7 separate regions of the Homo sapiens genome follow, and regions 2, 3, 4, 5, 6 and 7 are each linked to region 1. The links are contacts of gene promoters, found by promoter capture Hi-C in blood cells and fetal thymus (Javierre and others, 2016). All regions are on one chromosome and are shown on one strand. Each heading gives the region's core, a stretch centred on a gene start or on the middle of the fragment in contact. The rest is flanking DNA. Distances are from core to core; before and after follow the strand shown.

Region 1 (3,830 bases), core at 103-2,602:
GGCCGCCGCCGCCGCCCGGGCCGCCACCGCCCCCCGGGCCGTCGTGGGCGCCGCCGCCGCCGGCCGCCGCGCCCGCGCCGCCCGCGCCGGCCATGAGCGCGAGCGACGGCGAGGAGATGTGGTCCAGCAGATCGCCGGGTTCGAGCGCCTGGTGGTGGTGGTGGTGGTGGTGGTGGTGCGCCAGAGGCACCGTGGAAGTGGACGTGCACGGCACGCTGTTCATCGTGTGGTACGTGGCGTCCGGCTTGAAAGGATGGCTCTTGCCCTGGGACACGGCGATGTCCACGGCCGCCAGCGCCTCGGCCCGCGCCAGCAGCGTCTCGTCCAGGCTGGCGAAGAGGTTGCTCTGCAGCTGCAGGCGACACAAACCAAACCAAAAAAACCACAAAACCAAAAGAGCAAAACAAAACAACAGAAGAAACACACACACAGGCCGGAAAGCACAGCATGCGAAGGGCAAACACAAAGCAACCAAAATAACAACGGGTTTGGGGGCAGTGGAGAGCGGGAAAGACGGAGAGGGGGCACATTGACGACCAGGGAGGGGGCAGACGAGAAGGGATGGGAGCGTGGAGAGGGGGACAGAAGTAGGGAGAAAGGGGGACACAAGAACACATTCCGGAAACGGGCGTGGGAGACGAAAAAGAGGGAAAAGAAGAAATGGAAATGTAACTCGCAGCTGGGGACCCGTGTCACACACCCGAGCACGCACAGAGACTGCCTTTCTGAGGCGTGAAATTAACAGAGAAAGTAGAGGGAAGTCGAGAGTCCTGGCCCCAGCGCTCCCTACTCCGATCGCAGGCGCCTGACGCGGAGGCAGAGGCAGACAGGAACACGACATTAAGGGCCGCCGGACAAAACGTGCCTCGCTGCGGGACTGCTCTACACCCCCTGCCCGCAGTTCCCCGCACCGGGACCTGCACACACCAGCCCCCGACATGCAGCGTTTCGGAGACGGGGAGGGGCGGGCGCGCGGGCCGGGGCCGCGGGCGTGGGGCGCTTACCGGCGGCGTGGGCAGGCAGGCCCGCCGGATGGCCTCGGAGCTGGAGTGCAGCGACGGGTACTTGTGCTCAGGGAGGGTGGGATGCATGGCAAAGTGAGGCTGCTTGCTGTTCATGGACATCATCGTGGCGGCTTGGCATGTATATCCACAAACACTCCGAAAGTCCGCGGGAAAGTGCGTACGCCGGCTCACCCGGCCTCCCTTCGGAGGCTGCAGCCGCGGCGGTCGCGGCGGCTGGCGGCGGCCCCGCCGCGGGCTGCTGCTGCTGCTCCTGCTGCTGCCAGGCGCTCCCTCTGACCGCGCAGAGCGCCGCGCGCCGGCCTCGCGGTCCCGCTTCTCCGACAGCTCTAGCCCCGCGCGCCGACGGGATGCACTCCTCTAACACCTGAGCCCCACTTCTCGCGGCCGTCCCGGGGAGCTCTCGCGAGAGCTCGCGGCCCCACCGCGCTGACAGGCATCAGCTGTCTCCGTCTGTCTGACGCGCGCTCTCCTTCTCGGCGGCCCCGTGCGTCTGCGCGCGCGCGCGCTCGTCCGGCCGCGACCAGCGCGTGGGAGCCGCTCTTATAGTGACCACCAGCAAGGACAGCGCAGGTGATGCACCTGTAGCTACCCGGGCATGCGCACTGCCCGCCTCACCTTTCCCACCGTGGTCTGGAAAGATCAGAAGGTCCAGCTATTGTCTAAGGGTGGGCACCTTTTAGAATAAAAAAGACGAGATGCGCGCACGCCCCTCTATGTGTGTGTGTGTGTGTGTGTGTGCGTGCGTGTGTGTGTATGTGTGTATGTTTCTTCTCCCTGATAGCAAGCCTTGAATATATGAGCATTACTTAGGCATTCCTCCTCTTCGGGATGCCTAACAAGCTGTTGTATAATGTATACAGCTGGACATTTCTACGTTAAATTATGCCCGCGCATTCCTCTGTATACAGTATAAATAACAACACAGAAATGCAGAAGGTGCTGTCTTTTGCTGCAAGAACCTGTTTCTTTAAAGGTTTATAAATAGGTTCCTGGAGAATAATCGCGGTGACAGACATTTGTTTGAAGCAGTCAGACGCTATTGATTTCCATATAATTTAATTTCCTCCGCATACTTTTTTGTTGTTGTTGTGAATATAACTGTGTCAGGCACCGCCAGTGACAGCCACTTAGGAGCCACAAGGAGCGTGTGCTTTCTACTCGGGAAAAGCTGTTGAAATGAAATTGTGCATTTCTCTTATTGTTTGTCTCCTTCAACCGTGTACAAACCCACGTTTCAAACGAGCTCCGGGTGATCTAAGGCTTCTAGTAATCAAAAGGAAAAAACAGTTAACAGGGTGTAGTTGGGATCCTTCCTCCCCTCAGCGTACACACACACACACACACACACACACACACACACACACTTTATGCTGGGAACTCCAGGAAAACTGCTTCAGAGAAAAGGGAATAAGATGTTGAAAAGAGAACTTTCTTTTCCCTTCCATCTTTTTGGCTTTTTGCCTCATATCTCTGCCTGCTTATATATATTTTTTTCAATAGGAGACAGATCAAACTAACTTACAGGAAAGCTTGATTCAAAAATATTAAATCAAGCCAATTTGAAAGAACGGGGACAAGCTCTGGTCCAGTTTTTAAATTTTTAAAAAATTATTGTGAAATTAAGACCTAAAAAGAATAAATCAATTAGCCAACCTGTTATATGGCCCTTATGTGGTAGCAGATCAAGAGCCTCCCAGGGGAGCCACAGTTCAGGTGCCAAAGTCCCCAGGGAAGGAGCACTTGCTCGCGGTGATAATAACCTAACAGCCCAGATGTTATCACATCTGCGGTAAGAGAGCTGGAGAGCAGCAAGGGGCTGCTTATGGAAAGCAGAAATCAGATAATCTTTCTGTTCTCTCCCACACCAAGGAAGTCTGTATTTCCACCAAAGAGCAGATCTCATTTCTATAAACCTAAATTTGCGTTCCCGTGGATTTTATCTTTCCTCTGCACAAATGCATGTGTGTTTAGCATACCCACTCACCTACTCAGATTCCAAGAAGAGCCCACAGGCGTCACCATGGCTTTTTCTTTCTTTCTTTTCATGTTCCCCCCCACCCCCTCCCTTCCTTCTAGCTCCAGAGGGAAGTGAGAAGGATGTTCACTTGCTGGTGAGAGAAGGAGCTGGTTCCATCCATTACGCAGTCCCCTGGGAGCGCTAAATGCAACTTTATCTCAACGGGGAGTGGACGATGAGCAGGACGTCGCTAGAGGGAAAGAGTGAGTCCTACGGTAGTCATCACACCGGGAGTCCGGGCTTAACCTAGTCCTTCCTGACACCCCTGGTGGCCGTTCCCTGCGCTCTCTCTTGACGGGAAAGAAAAGGCCCCCACAGAGGGTGAGGGCCTGGAACCTGCCCCTCCCCTCTCAAGGAAGCGCTGGTCTTTAGGGACCCTGAAGGGTACAGGAGCAACAGAAAGGTAAACAGTACAGGTTTGCGGCCGGGTGGGGCCTCTGAGAGCCAGGTGAGCTCCTGAGTACCCAAAAGGCACCTCGGTTCACCCTCCAACCCTGGGAGGCTTCCATTAAACCCAGCGGAGAGATGCCACCTTAGCCTGAAGTTAGGAGTTAGTCCCACCAAGATTTCCTTCCCTGTTCACCTCTCTTTCGACAACAGGAATACCCCACCTTGGGGTGAGGCCAGATCTTTGCTTGGGGTATTGGGTGTTTTGATGGGACCAGAAACATGAGGGCTATGGGTACAATCCTCCCTCCCCCTCCCACCATGGATAGGAAGCCCATCTAGGATACATCCATCTTCACTATAGCACTTAGTGCAGAGTTTGTCACAGGAAAAGTACCCCA
Region 2 (3,830 bases), core at 404-2,903, 890 kb after region 1:
TATAGGCCATGTGGTCTCTGTCACAGCTACTCAGATCTGCCATTGTAGTGCAGCAGTATCCATACCAAATATGAAAATGAACAAATGGGCTGTGTTCCAGAAGACTATTTGCAAAAACAGTGTGCTGGATTTGGCCTGCTTGCTCTAGTTTGCCCACCCCAATGTAGATGTTATAGGAATGTACCTCATATAGGCCTGAAGCTTGGCATGTTGAAGGACGCTTCTAAGAAATTAATTTTTTATTTCACCCAGTCTCTAAATAAATTCCTAACAATGTGGTGAGGTTGTTTTGCATCCCTTACTTGCACCTGATAATCAGCCAAGCACCTAGTCTGTCCTAGAATTGGGATGGATATGAGTGGATAGTAGAAGAGAATATAATACTCCCTGTGAGAGTGTCAAAAACAGCTTATTCAAATATGGTAGAATCTTCATTCTGTTAGTGTGATTGCCTCATTGAGGTCATTCTTGACTACCTTATTTTAAATCACTATATCCCATTCACAGTACTCCTTATCGCTGTTTCCTGTTTGTTTTTATCCAGAGTACTTATCATCTTCTGGTATTCCAAATATTTTGCTTATTTATTTCCTACCTCCCTTCTTTCTCCCTGAATTTAAGCCTCATGGTGGTAGAGAGATTTTTGTCTGTTTTGCTCACTACTGTATATATCTTTCCATACCTGCCATATGGTAGACTTTCAGTATTTGATAAAGATGAATGAATGGTGCTAGTTCAAGGCCAATTTTATAGACATAAAACCTTGCCTATGTTATTTTATTCCTTTTTATATTTATTCTGTTTCTGCTACTGAGACCTGGGCTCTTTAAGGTGGGGGTGATGGTGGTGGTTGTTTCTTTGCATTCTCTTCCAGCTTGAAATATATTGCTTAGTCTTCCTCTGTCTCTCTCTCTGAATGGTGTCCTTTAGAGTTGTTCAATAAGTAGCCCATGAAGCCATATGCAGTGGCCCTGCTTATCACCTTCATAAACTGCGGAGTTGTGAATACTGGTTTGATTTTCCTTATCTTTTTTATATTGATTACTTGGCAACTATTTTCTTCTTACTATTTTCTTAATATCTGACCTTCATTCTAAAACATTGCTCAATTGTATGTGTATTCGCAATATGTTATTTTAGGATTTTGTATGTATTCTATATATGTAGGCCTGACTTGAGTTTAATTAACTGTGGAATGGTATGGAATCTTCTACTGACGTTTAGTCAATGTAAATTTACTGACAAGATCACTGTAATTAAGGCTATGCAATTGTAAATCATCGTATGTCTCTGTTTTCGGGCCATGTTGTTATGGTTTCTTTCAGATGTTTGATCACTTAGCTGGAATTAGGGTGTGGGTAAAATTCTTGTTAAAGACGTGCCAAATGCAAGTTGGGAAATGCTGCAGTAGTCTAAGATTTACTGTCAGATTATTTCAGGGTTTTGACTTGCTTGCTTTTAAGATTTGTTTGAACATGTACAGTTTAATATTTTAAAAGTTCAGGAATGTGCTGTGGTTTAGTTCATCTATGATGTTTCTCCAGAATTACTCATAACATTATGTAAAGAAATTGTGCTATTTGGACAGAGGTTTTGAGAATAAGGGAGTGAACTGGATTTCATTTTGTAAAAGAATCTTCTAATGTGATGGTATTAACCCCTTTACTAATTTTGGGGGTCTTAGGACATATAGCCTTTTGGATATTGGACTGAGGAAATCCAGTAGTGACACCTTTTTTTTTTTTTTTTTCCTTTCTTTATAAGTGTTCAAAGTGACAGCTTTTGTAGAACATTTGTTCTCCTCACCTCGGGAGAGCTTTCATCTATATCAGATGACTTTTTGTGTGATTTCTGTCAAAAGGGAAGAGTCTTGAAATAACACTTGAGAGTTTTGTTTTTTTTGAGGCAGAGTCTCGCTGTGTCACCCAGGCTGGAGTGCAGTCTGGTGGATCACAGCACTGCAGCCCTAACCTTCTGAGTTCAAGCGGTCTTCCCCCTCAGCCTCCCAAGTAGTTGAGACTACAGGCATGCATCACCACGCTTGGCTGAATTTTTTCTTTTTTAGAGATAGAGTCTTACTATGTTGCCCAGTCTGTTCTCAAATCATTTTTCTGCCTTGGCTTCCCAAAGTGCTGGGATTACTGACATGAGCCACTGTTCCTGGCCACACTTAAGGCCCTTTTAAGTATTTGTTTTTAACCTTTAGAGAACAACAGGAGCACCTGCATACCTCATCCCTGCCTACGTTGTTACTGCATTGCATACTTTGGCCATGTTTTAAACTATAATGCTTTTGTTTCTCTATCACCACCCCAAATCATGCTATCTCTTGCTTTGTAGCTTTTAAATATATCTTTCCCATTTTTTCTTTTCTCCCTCCTTCTTCCAGGACTAATTTCAATTGTGTATTCAGATCTATATTTAGATGTTATTTTCTTCAAAAAACCTTTCCTTCCCTTTTACCTCCCCATCTCCATTTCCTGCTCTTTACTTTCAAGTTCTGCGTGTTCTTTTAACTGTGTGCACTTATCCTTGTTATAGCCCTTATTTCATGGTGTGTATTTCCCCACTAGATTGTAAACTCAGTGGGAAGCAGGGCTTAGATCTGTCTTGTTTATAATAGTTTATGTCATTGTTCTGGTCCTGTTATAGGTGCAAAATAAATACTTATTAAAGAAATAAATGAATGTCTTTTCTGAATGATTCCAAGTGTGTGCATGGCGATACTGGTATATTTTATTATGTTTATAAAGTGATATGTAGTTTTACAGAATTCTGTGCTATAAAAGTAATAATGTTTTGCACAGCCTATGCACTGTTGATATTCTTGATGTTCATAATTAGGGTATATCCTTTGCTTTTATAATAGTGCTGATGAATCAGTTTAGATGAGTTCTGGTATTTTTGAATAATTCCTCTTGTAACCAGTGGCTTGCATTTGCAAGATAGTAACCATGGTTAGGTTATTTGGTCTACCCATGGAAAAGAGAAAAGGAAATTGTTTCCAGATATTGTGGAAATAGGGGAGTCCTTAATGATCATTTTCTTCAATCTTCTCATTTTACAGAAGACTATCCGAGGGAGGTTCTGTTCAAGGTTATGCAGGAAAGCTTAGAGGACAGATTTTATTACCGTAAACGTAGCAACAGAGTTAAAATACATCAAGGATCCTGGGAAATAAAACCTTTATGATAGCTAAGTTTCTTTTATTTATGGCAATGCCAGACATAGAGAGCATGAATGGTATAGCTTAAAAAGTCTGGTATCATCTAGCTACAATGAACCCAGCCAATTGTGTAGCACTCACACCTCGGTAATCTTTCATTGGGCTGGATTTAGCTTGTAGGTGTTTTCTTTAACCATCATATTAAAAAAAATCAAATAGTACATGTCCACTTTTAAAATTCCGAGCACCAAAAGACGAATAATTAAAAACAGCAATCTCCTTTTCACCCTTTATCTTGTAAGTTTTTCTCCTTGGTGGGGAAGAACCCAAAAAACCTTTTAACTATTTCAGCTGCTTTATTTTACTGTGTATTTTTAACATATGCAGTTTCAGCCACTAATTTATTTTTATTAATTTTACTTTGCTTTCTTACATGTCCTTGCTTTCCCTACCCAAATCATGATCTTTGTAGTCCTGCCTCTTGGGTTCAAATCTTGACTTCTCAAAAACGTTGTGATCTTGGGCCAACTATTCTATGTTGTAGTTTCCTCATCCCTCATCTGTAAAGTAAAGACAGTACAGAATTCTATCTCAGAATTACTGTGAGCATTAAATGTATGAAAACCATCTAATTTTTGGTTAAATCAGTGACAAGTATTTACAT
Region 3 (3,830 bases), core at 975-3,474, 830 kb before region 1:
GTTATCAATGGAACTATTCTTTATCTTTTTTTAATGTCTTGAAACCTACTTTTCTGATATCAAGGCTATGTTAAATTTTAAACACATCAGATTTCTTTTAGTGCTTATATAATGTATATTTTTAAACCTTTTACTTTCAAACTTTTAGAAGTCTTATGTTAAGCATCATATAGTTTGTTGATTTTTTTAAAAATCTAGTATGAACATTGTTGACTCAACTTCAGCATTTAAACCATTAGTATTTAAAATAATCACTGATATATTTAGATTTCAATCTATCACCTTTTTATGAGCTTTCTGTTTGTTGTGTCTGTTCCTTTGGTTTCCATTTTAGTCTTACTTTAGTTTGCTTTATCATTCTGTTTTAATTTCCTACTAGTTTGAAAATTATAGCCTAATTGTCTTTTGCTATTCTTTTAGTGGTCACCCAAGAAATTACAATTTGCATCTGCATTAATCTTTGTCTTTACCATTCTTCTAGGGAGTATAAGGACCCTTAGTGTTATACCTAATCTATGTATGTGCAATTGAAGTGTCAGCCTGGGACTGGGGAGAAGAAATCATATACAGACTTTTAGGCTCTCTGAAATTCAGAGAAAACAGTCATATAAACAATGCAGCACTGTGTCGACAAAAGATAGAAAAAGATACACAGAGTGGTTTTAGGACAGAGGGAATGATCAACTTTGATGGGATCGGAAGGTTTTCCAGGTAGCTTAAGTGTTATTATTTTATTTTAAACTAGGCTCTGAGTTTATCCATTCAACAAATATTATTGAGGGTCTACTATTTGTTAGGTTTTGTGCTAGATGCAGAGGATGTAATAGCCAATTAGTCAGGCATGATTCCTATCATCGTGGAAATTACATTCCTGATTCTAGTGAGAAAGGTTCAAATCAAATAAGCAAAATACTATTTCTTTTCTGCAAAGGAAAAAGTAGGAGCTGAGATATAGAATGGTAGGGAATGAGAGGAAGAGAAAAAGGATTATTTCAATAGGGGTTCTCTGAAGGTATCCCATTTAAATAATCATCCTTGGGACCTCCTCTTCTGGGAAAAGGATATTTAAGCTGAAAATGTACAGGAGTTAATCAAGTGAAGAGAAGGAGAAAGATTTTTCCAGGCACAGATAGGGAAGATTTTGGGGTGTTTGAAGGATCAACAGAAGATTGGGATGGCAGGACCTCAGTGTGCTGGTGTCAGGATTGGCTACATCATTTGTGGGAGCTAGCACAAAATGAAAAGGCAGGGCCCTTTGTTGAAAACATATTAAGAATTTCAGGATGGTGACAGTGGAGTATTAAACCAAGTCTGGGACTCTCCTAATCATGGGTCCCTGCATACTGTGTAGGTGGCACACCAGTGAAGCCAGCCCCGGCTAAGAGGAAAGAGGTAAGAGCTGAGTTGGAGGAAGAAGCAGAGGGAAAATCTTGTGGAACCTCAAGGCTACATGAAGCACTTTGAGCTTTATTTCAAATTCAATGGGAAATGATTTCTTAATAATACCAGCACTCATAATGCTTTTCCTATGTGCCAGATACTCTGTGTAGCTCTTTAGAACGTTTTACTTATGTGATCCTCACACAGCCTTATGGAAGTAAATACTATTATTATCTCCATTTCAAAGATGGGGAGACCCAGGTGCAGAAAGGTTAACTTATGCCAGGACGCAGAGCTCTTAAGAGGCAGAAGTTGGATTTGAATGCAGTTCAAAAGGAGTGAGTTGAGCAAATTAAAAACTTACTCTACCTTTATATGAGAATAAATTAAAGAGAGCCAAGAGTGGAAGCAGGCACAAGGCCAGTGGACATTCCTTGCAGAGACAGCAGTATGTACAAAGGAATGGTGTGTGCAAGGACCTGAAGTTACATTGCTAAGTCAATCAGGGATTGGTTTAATTTAGCTGCATTGTAGGGTATAAGGAAGTGCTGTAAGAAACAAAGCCAAAGGCTGGGCAGGAGCCAATTTGGGGAGGGCCTCGTAGCTCATGCAAAGTAGGAGTGGGGAGCTAGATCTCTCTGAGGGAAGATGTGAAGGCAAGAATGATACCTAATTCTATGTTAGCCAGGCTCAGTGCAGGTAGCACTAATTAGCTTTTTTAAGGGAGAATTTTTTAAATTAATTTTTTTCATTTATGTTATTATGTTTTAGAGAGAGGATCTTGCTCTGTCACCCCAGGCTGGAGTGCAGTGGTACAACTGTGGCTCACTGCAACCTCAACCTCCTGGGCTCAAGTGATCCTCCCACCTCAGCCTTTTGAGTGGCTGGGACTAAAGGCACACTCCACCATACCCATTTAATTTTAACCTTTTTTTTTTGTAGAGACAATGTCTGGCTATGTTATCCAGGTTGGTCTTGAACTCCTGACCTCAAGTGATCCTACCACCTCCACCTCCCAAAGTGCTGAGATTACAGGCATGAGTGACCTTGCCTGCCCTAATTTTATTTTTGTAAGTGATAAATAAATGTACATATTCAGGGGGTACATGGTGGTGTTTCAGTACCTATCAATCAGATCAGGGTAATTAGCATATTCATCATCTCAAACATTTATCATTTCTTTGTGTTGCAAAACATTCACTATCCTCCTTCTGTTTGAAACTATATAAAAATATATTATTGTTAACTATAGTTATCCTACAGTGTTACAGAACACCAGAACTGATTCCTTCTATCTAGCTGTAATTTTGCATCCTTTAACATAAGTAGAATTTGGTAGAGGAATTCAGTGTCTGCAAGATCACTGGGAGGACTGGTGGGCCCAATTAGGGTGGGCCTCTGAGAACAGCCCGTAGCATAGCAGCACAGATCTGGCCTGCCAGGGGATCTGCTAACATGGCCAGAGACAGGGACGTGGGGAATCTGAAGCTGCCACTGGAACCGTTGGCTCCACTAACACACTGCACTAACTGTGGTCCGGGGATCAGGAAGCAGCATCGTGGCTGCATCATCATGCCTGCCACATTTGCACCAACAGAAAGTGGATAGGTCACATGTCCCACCTGTCCCACCCAGGAAAGTCATGGACCATATGTGGGGACCTCTGCGAAGGCTGCCACACAGTAAAGGCAATGTCTTCATGGCTGTGCTTGCAACAGAAACACCATAAACTGCGGAACTGTCACCTTTCCTGCAATAGTGATGGGTGTGCCCTAAGTCACATCTGGAATCCTTGCAGAAAGGAAGTTTGATAGATGTGATTTTTAGCTTTGTCCCTGTGCTATGCAGAGAGACATGCTCAGAGAAGTACCATATCCACCATGGAGACGATTGTATTCACCTAATAAACAGTGGATAGACTGGAAGGAAAATATAGGAGGGGCACGAAGACAGGAATATAGATGAAAGACTTGGTTTTAACAGAGCTAAGCCAATTTGGTGGTTTGTGCTTGGCAGATTCTGTTTAGTGCACATCACATCCAAGGGTTAGAGTGAGTGAGGGCTGTGGTCCACTCTCCCACAGTCTCGCAGACTAAGATGTTACAGGCAACGGCTTTACCAGATGCTTACCATGGCAGAACATGAGTCACTGCTTTCTGCTTTTGATACCATTTTCCTAATGCCCCCCTGCCCTGCTTAACTGCTAAGTAGCGCACATTTTACATTTTAGTCATAGAAACACTCAATTTCCTGCACTAATGATTCTATTCCTAAGTATAGGTATGTTAGTTTGGTTTGCCCCAAGGCAGATCCTGAGACAAGGGTAAGTAGCTTCATTGGAAGGTGCAGGAAATATCATAGGTGGGTGGCGAATTGAGGAAGAACTGGGAAAACTGGCAATAAAGAAGACTTATTAAGCACGTTAGCACTGTGGGCAACTGGAAAATTCT
Region 4 (3,830 bases), core at 772-3,271, 810 kb after region 1:
TTTATTGGACAGTGCTTTCCTAAAATGTAAGAACTTTTTTCTCTCCTTATGTGAAATAAAGGAAAGAAATAAAGAGCTCAGTGTATTAATAGAGTAACTCTTAGTCCTCTTACTCTGTACTGCTTTGGTATGTTTTAGAATGCTTCTATGAAACTACTGCTGAAAACATCATTGGCGTTTGTTCAGTTTGGGAAGCTCAGGTGTGGTAGGGCCCAGGGAAGGAAGAGTACCTGCAGGGAGACCAGCCAATACTGAGAGCAAAGTGGGGGCTACCACCCTTCCTTTTGTGAATTATTAAGTAAGAATAAACACTTACCAGCAGATGAATTACAGGATAGAGATGAACACTCATCAGTAGTGTGAGGCCCCATAGCTTCTCTGATCTCTCTCACTAGAGAATATTAAGAGGTATACCCATTCTAGTTCAAGAAGGAAGAGCCTTCTACAACTGGCTTACATGAGTAAGGAAAGGCTATAATTAGATTTGTGTGGAGAATGTATGGGGCTGAGGTGGGGGTAGCCAAGAAAGATACAATGGGGAGTGGTAGAAGAAGGAAACAATTAGGAGAATATTGTAATGGTCCATGTGAGATGTTGGAAGTTTGAACTAGAGTGTTAATGGTGTTGATCTTTTCAAAGTTGTTAAAAAAACAACTATTCAGCTCTATCATTTGAAGATCTGCTTTCAGCCACCATTCTTTCCTTTTCTCTTTATAGGCAAGCAAGAGTTGTTTGTACTCATTGTCCCAGGTTCCTCTCTTCCATCACTCCAGTTCAGTATGAACTAGCTTCTGTCTCTATCATTTTACCAAAACACTTCTTGCCAAGGTTATCAGTGACTTGCTTTTCGCTGACACTGACCAAATGTAGTATCCACATTTAGTCTTGTGTTATTTGATCAAATATAACATTTGACAACATTGTTCACATGTTTTTTTCTTGAAACACTTTTTTCCCTGCTATTTTTATTGCATCACAATCTTCTTGGGTTTTTCCCCCTGATTTTTCTGAATACTGTAATGTATCCTTCTTGAACTTCAACCACACTTCATATGGATGTGCCTTGGAATTCCTGTTGGTCTTTTTTCAATCTAAACATGATCCCCAACCCATCTTATCTATTTTTACTATTTCAACTCCTATATCCATGCTGATGTTTCCCAAAGGTCATTACTTGGATGTCTTCTAGGCATCTCAAATCAGTCTCTAAAACTAAACTCATTATCTTCACTAACCAATTTTGCCCCTTTCCTGTGATATGTAACTCATAGAAAGCCACCATCATCCAATTGCTCAAGTCAAAAATCTAAGTATCATCCTTCTCCTTTTACCACTATCCAATTAATATCCCAATGAATATCTATTGAGTCTTCCTCCTAGGCATACCTAGAATCTACTCATTGTCATTCAACCCAGATGATACACTGCAGCCAAAGAAATCCATTAAAGCCCCCTCTAATCATGTAAACCCTTATTGGCTCCCCATATCCCAGGCTAAAGTACAAATTTATTAATTGTAATACTTAATTGAAATTAACTGTGTTTTATGGTATTAAGCACTGTTCTAAATGCTTTACATTTATTTATTCTCACAATTTAGCATTCCCAGTTTACAGCTGAGGAAATTAAGCTTCAAGTTGCCCAAGTTTATAGAATGAGTCAATGGCAGAGGTTGAACTCAGGTCAGTAATCAACACCACATCCTTAACCACATGCTTTCTTACATCTTTCATTAATTGACACCTGCCTAGTTCTTAAGCTTCTCCCATTCTCCACTTTTTACATTCTACAATGGTGCCATACCATGTATCTGCAGTTCCCAGAACAGTACTGCATTATGCAATAGATGAACTGGTATATGCTGAATAAATCATCAACACAGAGGCATGAATATATTTTTAGAGTATTTATTATTTTTTAAATGATGAGAACATTGGAAAAATCAGAAAGACTTCCCTACATGTAGTTTTATAGTTAGCATTATTTTTATTTTGAATTTCAAGTGGGAAAGCACTATAATATTTTGGTGCATAGAGCCTGTAAATTCCTTAATCTATTTCTACAAACAAGCCATGGTGTCCGTCATTGTACTCTTTGCACAAAGAGCCCCTTCGGTTTAGAACATTTACCATGCCCAACCCTATCCTTCATCTAACTCCAGCACTTACCTTAAAAGTCGCTTTCTCCGGGAAACCTTCCCTGACTGGGCTGAGTGTTCACAGTGTTTATCCCTGTTACAATTACATCACGTTGTATTGTTAAAAGATTAGGTTCCTTGAAGGCAAAAGCTTTTTTTACCCACTGTTTTATTCCCCAAATCTAACATAGAATAGATAATACATTTTTCAACAGTCATTTATCACTTTTTTCCTACATTATAATTACCATTTTTGAAATGTTGATTGACACTTGTCTGACTCTCAAGGTGCCATGAAGTGAAACATTAGTCCACAAGAAAGGCTGTTTTTTTTTTAATGGTCTTTCTTTGATATTTGTAAATCTCCCATAGAAAGAGGAAAAGATAAAATGAACTAGTTTTTAAAAAAGTATTAACAGGGTTGTTTTTTTTTTTTTTTTCTGAGGCGGAGTCTCGCTCTGTCGCCCAGGCTGGAGTGCAGTGGCGCCATCTCGGCTCACTGCAAGCTCCGCCTCCTCGGTTCACGCCATTCTGCCTCAGCCTCCTGAGTAGCTGGGACTATAGGCGCCCGCCACCACGACCGGCTAATTTTTTGTATTTTTAGTAGAGACGGGGTTTCACCGTGTTAGCCAGGATGCTCTCGATTTTCTGATCTCGTGATCCGCCCGCCTCGGCCTCCCAAAGTGCTGGGATTACAGGCGTGAGCCACCGCGCCCGGCCCAGGGTTTTTGTTTGTTTTGCATTTTAAGGAGCTAGAAAGGTAGAGGAGGCTAAACGCCATCTACATCTCAGGGTTTTTGTTTGTTTTGCATTTTAAGGAGCTAGAAAGGTAGAGGAGGCTAAACGCCATCTACATCTCAGGGTTTTTGTTTGTTTTGCATTTTAAGGAGCTAGAAAGGTAGAGGAGGCTAAAAGCCATCTCTACTCATATTTCCAAACACCTGGTATTACAGTAATGTCCTCTCTCACAGTTTGTTCACACTTCCCATATTCAGGGCTTTGAGTAGTGTCCTCCCACACTGATTCTGGATTTGTCCAAGTGATTTACTTTGCTAGTGAGATTAAGGTAAATATGATGAGATAAAAATAAATGTGATGCAAGAAACAACTTGAAAAGTGCTTGAATGCTGAGGCTGCCATGTGATGAGGTCCCAGTAAGATCCAGCCTGACAACCACCAGGCATGTGAGTGAGACCATCCTAAACCAACCAACTTGCACAGCTAGTGCAAACCAAAAGAACTCCCCAGCAACTCACAGAATGGTGACAAGTAATAAATGTTTTTAAGCCGCTAAGCCTGGGGTAGTGAACATTGATACAATGCCTAACACACACTGAGGCTCATGACCTCTATTGACATATATTTTTCTTATAACATAGCTTGTAGTTCCATTCATTCAACCAATATCCGTAGTCGATTTACTTATATAAGAAGAAATTCTTTTTTTAAAAATGAAATTAAAGTAACTCATTGCATCAAAGGAAATGCTGAATAGGCTTCCAAGGCACCAGCAACCATAAAATCTCTAGGAATCAGAGCTGCCAAAACTTGTTCAGTCATGGACTTTTTCTATAGAATGCTCCTGCATTCAGCTTACTCAGTAACAATCACCCACCCTGGGTGTTGAGATACAAATTATCAAAATAGAGAATCTAATTGACTTTGCTTAAGTGTATGCCTATCACTGAGTAAG
Region 5 (3,830 bases), core at 693-3,192, 740 kb after region 1:
TTAACTTGGTTCAGTGCTACAAACAGTGCCAGGGCACAGGGTAAGTACTCAAAAAACATTTCTGCACTAAACTAGACTGAAATGACTATAGGTCAGAGTGGACAACCTTTTCTATACAACGGTCAGCTCAAAAAAAAAAAGTATTGGGTATCTTTTTTATCCTTCAAAAGAAAAACAGTTTAAGTTCCACGGGGTGACTGGTTACTGGTTCTTAAAAAGAAGCCTAGGAATCCCTGTAGGGTGATCTACGAATGCTATAAAACTAAACATGAAAGCATGTGTGTGAACACTGCAATTTTTCTAAGGAAAAACATTGTTTTCTCAAGTCATTGTTTCTAAAGGAGTTCATGACCTAAATAAGGTTAAAAGAACTACTCAAGTTTAAGAGTATAAATGAGAAAAGTGGCCCTATTTTTTAGCCACTGAAACATTAACATCTGGTTAACAGGTAAGTAGCAATCTGAAGACTACTTTCTAATCTTTCATCATGAAATCTGATTAGGGAACATCACAAATCGCTATTCTAAGTATTCAAGAAAGTGTTAGCCTCTAAACGAAATAAAAACCTAAAATATTATAATTGTACTAGTTTCATACAGTACAGCTGATATTTAAAAAGAAAGGTTCTTAACAATATTTGATGTGTATTAAAATTTGATCAATTATTATATTTGTGAGACAGGGTCTCACTTTGTCACCCAGGCTGGAGCATAGTGGCCCAGATCTTGGCTCACTGAAACTTCCACCTCATGGGCTCAAGTGATCCTCAGCCTCCCAAGTAGCTGGGACCTCAGCCGCGCACCACCACACCCGGCTAATGTTTTGTATTTTTTGTAGAGACAGGGTTTCTCGCCATGTTGCCCAGGCTGGTCTCAAACTCCTGAGCTCAAGCAATCTTCCTGCCTTGGCGCCCCAAACTGTTGGGATTATAGGTGTGAGCCACCATACTCGACCAATTAAACAAAGATTTTGTTTGTGGTCAGACTTCAGTGACCTTTCTTTGTAATTCTAGAGAAAAATTTCTTCCATGCTACCTAACCACAGCACAAAATGCCAAACCACATGACTATACAAAGACAAGACAATATATTAGTAGAGAAACACAGGATAAACTGAAAACAGAGCCTAATTAAGTTTCACAAACTGTTTTCTTCATGAGGATTCCATAAGTTGAAAAGTTGTGGCCAAAAGAAAAAACTCCTAATTATTTAAGTGTGAAACAATGAATATCGTAACCCAATTTTCCAGTTTTTAATTTATATTATCTTCATAATAAAAGCAGTGAGAAGCCAAGAACAAACCCATATAATTTATTTAACCAAGTATTTCTCCAGTTTCAGTGAGAATACTCCTTTTCAAATCATTTTTGACATGTAGTATCAGACTAAGGAGTGCTGGTTCAAAGTGAATAAAAGTATCTGACAATGATAAGACTCCTTTATTCCTAGAAGTATTCCCATTTCCTTTTTTATCCAGGAACATCCTTCTGTAAAACTAGAACATCCACGAATGTGACTCACTAAGGCTACAACTCAGTGACTGTAAGACAAACTATCATTTATGTACCCCTACTAAAGAAAAAAAGGCTGCCAATCATAACCTGTGTCTAACAATTATAAGACACAGCCCAACGTCAGAGGTGTTAAAATGTAAAAATGTGACTTATAAACAATGAACTATATTGTTCACTATTTGAATCTATCTGGTTCTGGAGATTAGACAGTTTGGATAGTAAGAGACACATGTATTTTCAAAAGAAGAAAATCTATTAAAACTGAAATTAGTGGAGGGAAGTAACGAGCCCAACAGAAAAGAAGATACTCCAATTCCTAAGAACAGAGACAGTGACTTCTCCAAACAACCACATTTCTATATTCCAAATGCATTTCTATATGTGCTATAATTTTTACATATTTACTTCTATACATCTTACTACACTTACTTAATCCCAACTGTGTGAATTATTTTGAATTTTCTATATCTACAACCATGTCATCTGCAAGTAAACAGTTTTATTTCCAATCTTTATATGGTTTATTCTATTTTCCTTCCTTAGTGCACCCATGAGTCTCTCCAGTACAATACTAAAAAAAATAAAAGTGATGCAAATGGACATCCTTGTCTTTCCCAACCTCAAGGAAAAACAGTCAATATTTCACAATTGAATATTATGTTAGCTGTAGTTTTTTTTCTTTTATTGCAGATTTCCTTCATCAAATTAAAACAGTTTTTCTCTATTCCTCCTTTGCAGAGTGTTTAATGTAACTAAGTAACAGAACACTTTCTCTACTGAGCTAATCATCTAGAGTTTTTTCCTCCCTCATTCTACTAACATCAATTAAACTGATTTTTCCAATGGTAAATCAACCTTGAATTTCTGGAATAAATACTACCTGGCCATGAATGATTATGTATTTCATGTATCACTGGACATTTGCTAATATTTTCTCTAGGATATTTGTGTCTATGTTCATGACAGATGTTGGTCTGTAATTTTCCTTTCTTATAGTATATTGTCAGGTTTGGTATGCTGAACTCAGAAAATAAGTTGAAAAGTATCATGTGCTGTGTTGTTAAAATGTATAGCACTAATACCTCTTATTTTCCCTAAAGAGAGGGAGGTTACAATCCATTAACACCTCCTTATTTTATTTCCTATGTAAAATAATACCAGCCACAATAACTATAAGTAATCGTAAAGAAAGAGAAAAACAGCTGTTTTTCATAGATAAGAATGGAAGGGAAAAAGTATTTTGTAAAATTAAGTTATCCGAGTATGATTTTTCAATAACCAATGCCTAAGTAGAAATTAAATACAAATATAGTTATGATGTCTAGCAGCCACACTCACAATAAATAGCTCCAACAGGTTTTTAAAGCAGAAATACATTGGTTTAATGCAATCAAAAGACAGTATGAGGAGCTATGTGTAGGAAACGTATTAATACAGTTACTGTATGGTCAGTTTTCATAGTAAGTAGTCACCTGTTCAGTAAATCTGAATGTTCGTTTATGATATTCACTTAAAGCAGCACACAGATGTGCGTTCTGTATCAAACCTGAGAATTCTGGTGAGAAGAATGGGATTTTGGTTTAAAGTTAAGTTTATACATACTTTTAGATATTAATCGTTTTTAAATTTCAAGAACACAAAGTATGTTTTAATGCACTGATCTACCTTATCTTTTTTGTAGCTTTCAAAATTTTATTCTTTTAATTGACAAAAACTGTATAGAGATGTCCCTTAACTTATGATGGGGCTATATCCATTGTAAGCTGAAATACCATTTAAGTTGAAAATACATTTTCAACTTGTAAGTAATAAATGCATCATCAAATTGAAAAACTGTTAGTCAAGTCACCGTAAGTTGATGACTGTCTGTGTATTTATCATGTACAACATGCTGTTTGAAATATATACACTGTAAAATGGCTAAGTCAAGCTAATTAACATTTGTATTACGTCACTTTTTTTTGTGGTGAGCTGCTTTCTTGGCAATTTTCAAGAATGCAACACATTGTTATTAACTATAGTCACCACGTTGTACTATAGATATCTTTAATTTATTTCTTCTATCTAACTGAAGTTTTATATCTTTTGACCAACATTTCCCAATCCCCTGTCCTCAGCCACTGGTAACCACCATTCTACTCTCTGCTTCTATGAGTTCAACTTTTTAAGATTCCACATATAAGTGAAATAGACAAAGGGATTAAAAGAAACAAAGATTAAAAAACTTGCAGAGAAATATTTTAACAAACATCAAAGTAAAAAATATGTACAGCTAGTAATGAATTTTTGCTACACAAATAGCTTAGTTACTACAAAG
Region 6 (3,830 bases), core at 763-3,262, 720 kb after region 1:
ATACCATGTTTTATCTTTTATACCCTATTTTTACTGTACCTTTTCTATGTTTAGATATGTTTGCCTACACAAATACTTACCATTGTGTTACAAGTGCCTCAGTATTCAGTATAGTTAACACAATGCCAGAGTTTCGTAGCCTAAGACCAACGGGCTATATACCATAGAGTGTAGGTGTGTAGTAGGTTATATCATTTATGTTTGTGTAAATACACTCTGTGATGTGTACACAACAATGAAATTGTCTAACAACACATTTTTCAGGTCATATCCCTCTTAAGTGGCACATGATTGTATAAACTTAGGTCTATTTCTGAACTGTATTGTACTACATTATCTGCTTTGTACTGCTTTTAAACAGTACGAATAATTAATGCAAATAACTTTTTAAAGTATGCTATGGCAGTGCTTCAAGAGTTATGCATGTACTTTAAAATTCCATTAAAATATATTTTTAAAAGTGAACTGTATAGCCATTTATAAAATGTTAAGGAACACCATGTTTAAATGTGCTCTACAGGATGCCTACTTGGGCTAGGACGTAGTGGTCAAAAAGGTGAAAGTGGACCTAAATGTAAAAATCCACAAAATATGAAAGGGGGGGAAATAGTATCAGATGAAGATAAAATTTGCTTCCCAATGCAAATGTAGCTGATAATCTAGATTAAAAAGATAATTTTTGAAAAAACTACCAAAGTACCAAACTAAAGCCAGCAAAGATAAACTTAAACAAATCATTTCTACAAAACAGCCTGTAAAAAGACACATTTAATCATTAGATACTGATAGTTTCACAAATGAATTCTATTAAAATTTTAAAAAACATATTTCCAAAGCAACTTAAATTATCTCAGAAAGCAAAGAATAATGGAAACTTTCCAATGACAGGTAATAGAGATACCTGACAAAAATATCCCTCCCAAAATTTACAAACCAATCTTACTTTTGAAAATCATTTTAAAAAGTAAAAAGAGAAATAGAAAGAAAAAGAAGAGACTTTAGTGATTTTTAAAAATACAGTACTATGGGATTTAAACCAGAAGAGAATGATTAGAAGCAGTGCAATGAAATAAGGTGAAAAAGAAAAAAAAAAAGTCATTGTTATACAAACATCAAAAAGCATTATAAAAATCCATTTCTAGCCTGGGCGTAGTGACAGAAACCTGTAATTCTAGCACTTTGTGAGGCTGAGACAGGCAGATTGGTTGAGCTCAGGAGTTCAAGACCAGCCTGGACAACATGGTGAGACCCCATCTCTACAAAAAATACAAAAATTAGCCAACTGTGGCGGCGTGTGCCTATAGTCCCAGCTACTTGGGAGACTGAGGTGGGAGGATCACCTGAGCTCAGGAAGTCAAGGCTGCAGTGAGCTGTGATCAGACCACTGCACTCTAGCCTGGGTGACAGAATGAGAACCTGTCTCAAAAAAAAAAAAAAAAAATCCATTTCTGATCAAAAATCTTAATGAAACAGAGTCATTTGTATTCTACCTTAAGACAAAAAGCCAGCATCACACATAATACTGAAAATACTAGAAGCATTTTCATTCTGCAAAAAAGTCAGTCACTATTATTATCGATGTTTTTAACATTTTTCTAAAGGTAAACGATGAAATAACAGAAAGTAGTATAAGTGTAGAAATGTGAGAGGTAAAACTATGTTTAACCAAAGATAAATTGAATGAAAACCCAAAAAACCCAAGAGAGCAAAATTAAAACCATCAAATAGTTTGATAAGATGGCAGTTACACATTTAATAAAAAAAGATGAACAGTCTTCCTACATATGAAGAACCAATAGAAAATATTATGGAACAAAAGATCTCATTTAAAATAGCAATAAAAAGATGAATTATTATGGGGAAATTTATAAGCAATGTATGTTGTCTATATAAAGAAACCATAAGCAGGAAGGGTGGGAGACAGATGAGGGTTGAAAAATTACCTAATGGGTACAATGTTCACTATTTGGGTAATGGGTATACTAGAACCCCAAACCCTACCAGTATGCAATATACTCATTAACAAACGTGCATGTGTACTCCCTGAATCTAAAAATTAAATTAATTTTTAAAAAAGAAAACCTTAACACTAGTAATATATACTGGCTATGTTAAAAAAAATTAAAATGCTCTTACAATGTAAAAAGTACTGAAGAACTTGAAAGACAATGAGGTTTTAGAGGAAGACTTAGCATTTGAGGAAAATTTAGTATTATTATGTTCATTCTCCCATAACTTAGTCTATCTTTTTGAAACTAAGTTTATTCAAAAGTTTACATCGAAAATAAACACCTAAAACATACCAGCAAGATTCTGAAAGTGAGTAATAATTGGGTGTGAGAGGGAATCCAAACTGCCCTGACAAACTACTGAGTTTAGAAAGCTAGTTTAATTAAAACAGTGAGAAACAGGCACATGAAGAGAGAACTCATCAATGGAAGAGTCTGGAACACACCCAAATAAACATATCAGAAATTTATATATTTCACATAAGCCTGGAAAAACTAGATTTAACTAATGAACCCAACAGGCTTCCTATTTCACTCCTTAGACCAAATAAGTTCCACGTAAATTTTTAAAAAAATGAATGTGAAGTCTTCAAAGAAAAAAAAAAGCCTATTAATATTAAGAGTATTAGAAAAAACAAGGGAAAATGTTTCTTATCTCAGATTGGTGAAAGCCTTTCAAACTATAAAAAAAGATTAACTGGACAATTAACTATTATTGTGGAAAATACAGCATAAATGAAAATTCATAAAAATATAAGCTATGAGCTAATTTCCAAATATACAAAGAGCCCCTGCATTAAGTAAAAAAAAAAAAAAAAAAAAAAAAGACTACTCAGCAAAATAATAGAATGGGCAAATGACATTAACAGTTGATAGACATAAAAACAAACAATAAAAACAGACAGCATTTAATTAAACATGAAAATGGCTCAACTACAATCAGAAAAGTGAATTAAAACCTAAATGAGTTTCTATTTCAGTTTGATAAACTGAAGATAAAACTGATACCCCACTCCGATAAAAATGAGGACAAACTACATACCTATGGATTTTTTTTTTTAATAAGAAAAGTAGTAAAACCACTATGTAGCGTACACACTATGGCAAGAGTGTAGGGAAAAAGCATTCTCATACATCTTTGGTGGGCAAATAAGTATAACCTTTATGGTGGGCAATTTTCATTAAAAATTTAAACGTACATATCCGTTCACCCACATGTTGGTGTCAGTGAGAAAGGTGGAAAAATGTAGAGACATTAAGACCCATGAGATTAAGTAAAAACCATAGAGTCTAGAATTAACAAGTATCAGAGTGAATTCTGAATTTATCTTTACCTATCTACTTGTATGTGTGTATATATGTGTATGTATTAAAAACTTTATAGCCCCAAATTAAATGCAAAGTATCAGTATGAGCTCTAAATTTCTTTATACATGTGTATATATGTGCATATACATATATATATATGTATGTTTTTTTTTCACTCCCAGTTCTGACAACTGAAAAGGATTAGTGATGGTAACATACTTAATAGTAATGCGTACCCCTAGTACCCAAACTGTAGTGTCTAAATATCTTTGCCTAATAAATAAACCAAAGCTCCTTAGAGAAAGGGTCAATTCCAGGTCTGGAAGAGACAGTGTTTAAAATGAACCTAGAACACCTTCTCATACCAGAAGGAACAGAACCACTAGGATCCTGTCAAAAGCACTCAGGAGCCAACCTGTAGTCTCCTGGCCAAAGATGGAATAACTTCAACATTAATAACTGAGAGCAATGGATTTGTACCCATAAAATGTTTATATATGAATTTATGACTGC
Region 7 (3,830 bases), core at 845-3,344, 650 kb after region 1:
AAATATAATAAAACAGAGGTTTTATTTGTTTTACTGATTTATCAAGCTGTTTAAAAACAACCTAATGTTGATCTTTATTCATCATTTTTTTAAATGTGTTTATAAATTGCTTTGCCTATGTAAACAGAATGATAGAATATATGACTCTATTTGGCTGTTCCTATTTTCTGTATATTGAAATGGAATCGCATTTTTTTTGCATAGAAGGCAAACCAGACACTGATGAACCATACCTGTCAATATTGATTACCATTGACAAATATTGATATTTATATGAATTTTTATATAATATTTGTATGATTACCATTGATAAATATTGATATTTATATGAATTTTCCTCAGTTGGTTGATGATAATACAAATTTTTTAATTTTTCAGTGGAGAATTTATTTCTAATCACTTACTTGTTCTTTGAAAATCCTACTCAAATCATGATATTTTATTAGGTCCTTGATAATGTTTCCTTAAAATGTTCACAGTATCAAGGTTCATTTTATTGCCTATAAATATCTCATTGTTCTAGCACCACTTGTTGAAAAGATTATATTTTCCCCATTAAATTGCCTTGCCACATTTGTCAAACAGCAGTTGACTAAATGTGTGTTTATTTCTAGATTTTATATTCTGTTCCATTAATCTATTCATCCATACACCAATTCCACATTTTCTTGATCACTATAGCTTTATAGTAAGCCTTGATATCAGATAATGTAAGATTTACACTGACTTAACACTGTAAGTCATCCACATTTGTACTTTTTAAAGTTTTTTTGTCTATTTTGGGTACTTTCTACTACCATATAAATTTTAAAATAAGCTTGTCAATTTCTACAAAAAAGGCTGCAGGGATTTTAATTGGGCTTGTGTTTAATTTATAAATCAATTTGGGGAAAATTGCCATCTTAACAGTACTGAGTCTTCCAATCCATGAACACGGTATAGCTTTCCATTTATTTAGGTCTCCTTAAAATTTTGCTAAGCAATAGTTTGTAGTACAAAATTTAATTAAAAATGGACTACAGACCTAAATGTAGTGGTTAAAAACCACAAAAATTCTAAAAGAACACAGAATACATCTAGTGACCTTGGGCTTGGCAAGGTTTCCTTTTTTTTTTTTTCCAGATGGAGTCTCACTCTGTCGCCCAGGCTGGAGTGCAATGGCACGATCTCGGCTCACTGCAACCTCCGCCTCCCAGGTTCAAGCGATTCTCCTGCCTCAGCCTACCTAGTTGCTGAGATTACAGGCGCACACCACCATGCCTGGCTAACTTTTGTATTTTTATTAGAGACGGGGTTTTACCATGTTGGTCAGGCTGGTCTTGAACTCTTGACCTTGTCATCCACTCACCTCAGGCTCCCAAAGTGCTGGGATTACAGGGGTGAGCCACTACACCCAGCCCAAGGTTTTCTTAAATATGACACAAAAAAGCACACACTGTAAGACAAAATAATAAATTGGACTTCATCAATTAAAATTTTGTTCTTCTAAAGACATTGTGATGAAAATAAAGGGCAAGCCTCAGACTGGGAAGAAATATTTGCAAAGCATATATAAGAAAAAAAAACTTGTATCTAGAACGTACGAAGAACTCTTACAATTCAATTAGAAGACAACCCACTGTTTAAAATGAGAAAAAGACTTGAACAGATATTCGATCAAAGAAGATATACAGATGGCAAGTACATCAAAAGTTGCCCAATATTATTAGGCATTAGGGAAATACAAATTAAAACTACAATGAGATCTCGCTACATTTCCAAACATTACTTTTTTTTTTTTTTTTTTTAGTTGGAGTCTCACTCTGTCACCAGGCTGAATTGCAGTGGCGTGATCTTGGCCCACTGCAACCTCCACCTCCCAGGTTCAAGTGATTCTCCTACCTTAGCCTCCTGAATAGCTGGGATTACAGGTGTGCACCACCATGCCCAGCTAATTTTTGTATTTTTCATAGAGACATTGTTTGACCATGTTGGCCAGGATGGTCTCCATCTCTTGACCTCGTGATCCAGCCACTTCGGCCTCCGAAAGTGCTGGGATTACAGGCATGAGCCACCATGCCCAGCCCCAAACGTTACTTTTTTTAGAATGGCTAAAATTAAAAAGACTCTCCACACCAAGTGCTGGGGAGGATGTGGTGCTACTAGAACTTTTATATACTGATGGAGGAAATATAAAATTGTACAATAAATTTGAAAAACACTTTGACAGTTTTAAAGGTAAACATATACATGCCATACAACTCAGAGATTTCATTCTTAGGCATTTACCTAAGACAAATGAAAGCAAAGACTTGTAAAGGAATGTTCCTAGCAGCTCTATGTGTAATAGCCAAAACTGAAAACAACTCAAATGTCCCTCAACTGAGGAATGAATAAATAAATTGTCCTATATCCATATAATGCATTGCTACTCCACCATAAAAAAAGATTCAAATTTAAAAAAGAATAAGAATGTTGCTATGTGCAACAACATAAATTAACTCAAAATAATGTACTTTCTTATTGTCTGAACTATCTAAAAAACAAACAAAAATAATGAGCTGAATGAAAGAAGATAGAAAAAAAAACCCACATATTATATTATTCCATTTATATAAAATCTGATAAAATGCAAACTAAACTATAGTGACGCCATGCAGACCAGTTGTTGCCTTGGGAAGAAGAGGGAGGTTAGGGAGGGGAGTAAAAGATAGATTACAAAGGTTCACAAGGAAACTTTTAGAAATGTAGATACATTCACATATCTTGATTGTGGTGATGGTTTCATGGGTGTGTACATAAGTCAAAACTCATCGAAGTGTACATTTTCAATACATACAGTTCATGGTATGTTCATTATACCTCAATAAAGCTATAAAAATAGTGTCACACAGCAGTGGCAAAAAAAATGGTTAGATAATATATTAATTTTTAACTTTTCAATTATTCTTTTTTTTTTGAAACGGAGTCTCGCTCTGTTGCCAGGCTGGAGTGCAGTGGCATGATCTCGGCTCACTGCAACCTCTGCCTCCCAGGTTCAAGTGATTCTCCAGCCTCAGCCTCTCGAGTAGCTGGGATTACAGGCGCCCGACACCACGCCCAACTAATTTTTTGTATTTTTAGTAAAGACAGGTTTCACCATGTTGGCAAGGATGGTCTCGATCTCTTGACCTCATGATCCGCCCGCCTCGGCCTCCCAAAGTGCTGGGATTACAGGTGTGAGCCACTGCACCTGGCCTCAATTACTCTTTACTTTCAGGAATTTAGTTTTGCTTTGATATTTCTGGTGTTTAAAATGCCAATGACACTATTAACACAGTACTAATATAACAGATCTCATATTCGTGTACTTGTGCTCAGGGTAGAGCTGCAGAGTAATGTAACTGCATCTTCAAGCTTGATCCCACCCTCCCCCTCAAAAAAAATTCTGTCATTGCACTCTACCTATATTTTTGATAAACAAATTAAGAGTTCACAAATTATCTCTACAATTGAGTTTCAGCATTCAATTATTAAATCCATCTATGCTGGTAGATATGAAAATGCAACGTTTGGCAACTTTTGAGGTTCTTAAATGATCCAACTGGTCGTGCAGACTAAAATAAAACCAACAATAAAAACGCAAGCCAACCTCACATAGTTGCTAGCTAAATTACCATAAAAATAAAACCACTTCCCCCACCCTAGAGTTGGCCTTGTTAATAGGGTAGAAACGTAAGCTTTCAAGTATTTCTTGGGTTTTCTTCTTTTCCAGTGGCCACTGGGCCTGCTTCCCTTTACTGAGAATGAAGTTAATAACAGAATGACAGGAAACAGGCATTATTCATTTCACATGTGGACAAGAGAAGTGA

What was found. Contacts are between HindIII fragments. The CHiCAGO score rates a contact against its expected background, and 5 or more counts as called.
Region 2: a contact is called between a fragment that was not itself captured here and the fragment with the promoter of POU4F1 in region 1, in 1 of 17 cell types (erythroblasts). The highest score is 5.1, in erythroblasts.
Region 3: a contact is called between a fragment that was not itself captured here and the fragment with the promoter of POU4F1 in region 1, in 2 of 17 cell types (M2 macrophages and M1 macrophages). The highest score is 6.9, in M2 macrophages.
Region 4: a fragment that was not itself captured here is called in contact with the fragment with the promoter of POU4F1 in region 1 in 1 of 17 cell types (total B cells); the score reaches 6.4 in total B cells.
Region 5: a contact is called between a fragment that was not itself captured here and the fragment with the promoter of POU4F1 in region 1, in 1 of 17 cell types (total B cells). The highest score is 7.4, in total B cells.
Region 6: a contact is called between a fragment that was not itself captured here and the fragment with the promoter of POU4F1 in region 1, in 1 of 17 cell types (total B cells). The highest score is 5.1, in total B cells.
Region 7: a fragment that was not itself captured here is called in contact with the fragment with the promoter of POU4F1 in region 1 in 2 of 17 cell types (total B cells and naive B cells); the score reaches 9.6 in total B cells.

What each region holds. Positions count from the first base shown.
Region 1 is chr13:78,602,200-78,606,029 of GRCh38, forward strand. It overlaps POU4F1 (POU class 4 homeobox 1), which reads right to left and starts at 1,353. Exons shown (of 2, transcript NM_006237.4): 1 at 1,005-1,353; 2 at 1-352. The coding sequence starts at 1,127. It overlaps OBI1-AS1 (OBI1 antisense RNA 1), which reads left to right. Exons shown (of 6, transcript NR_047001.1): 4 at 3,102-3,245. RefSeq lists a silencer at 1,144-1,303. The HindIII fragment of the contact is 4,390 bases long and covers 1-2,552 here.
Region 2 is chr13:79,490,520-79,494,349 of GRCh38, forward strand. The region is part of intron 1 of NDFIP2 (Nedd4 family interacting protein 2); the gene reads left to right. Among named protein-coding and RNA genes, the nearest start is that of NDFIP2-AS1, 11 kb to the left of the region's middle. The HindIII fragment of the contact is 2,909 bases long and covers 200-3,108 here.
Region 3 is chr13:77,772,434-77,776,263 of GRCh38, forward strand. No RefSeq gene overlaps it. Among named protein-coding and RNA genes, the nearest start is that of EDNRB-AS1, 45 kb to the right of the region's middle. The HindIII fragment of the contact is 5,148 bases long and covers 1-3,830 here.
Region 4 is chr13:79,416,235-79,420,064 of GRCh38, forward strand. RBM26-AS1 (RBM26 antisense RNA 1) reads left to right here. Exons shown (of 7, transcript NR_038991.1): 4 at 1,601-1,682. Among named protein-coding and RNA genes, the nearest start is that of RBM26-AS1, 12 kb to the left of the region's middle. The HindIII fragment of the contact is 529 bases long and covers 1,758-2,286 here.
Region 5 is chr13:79,345,722-79,349,551 of GRCh38, forward strand. All of the region lies in intron 14 of RBM26 (RNA binding motif protein 26), which reads right to left. Among named protein-coding and RNA genes, the nearest start is that of RBM26, 59 kb to the right of the region's middle. The HindIII fragment of the contact is 6,086 bases long and covers 1-3,830 here.
Region 6 is chr13:79,325,873-79,329,702 of GRCh38, forward strand. All of the region lies in intron 20 of RBM26 (RNA binding motif protein 26), which reads right to left. Among named protein-coding and RNA genes, the nearest start is that of RBM26, 78 kb to the right of the region's middle. The HindIII fragment of the contact is 4,693 bases long and covers 1-3,830 here.
Region 7 is chr13:79,246,997-79,250,826 of GRCh38, forward strand. No RefSeq gene overlaps it. Among named protein-coding and RNA genes, the nearest start is that of RBM26, 160 kb to the right of the region's middle. The HindIII fragment of the contact is 2,558 bases long and covers 816-3,373 here.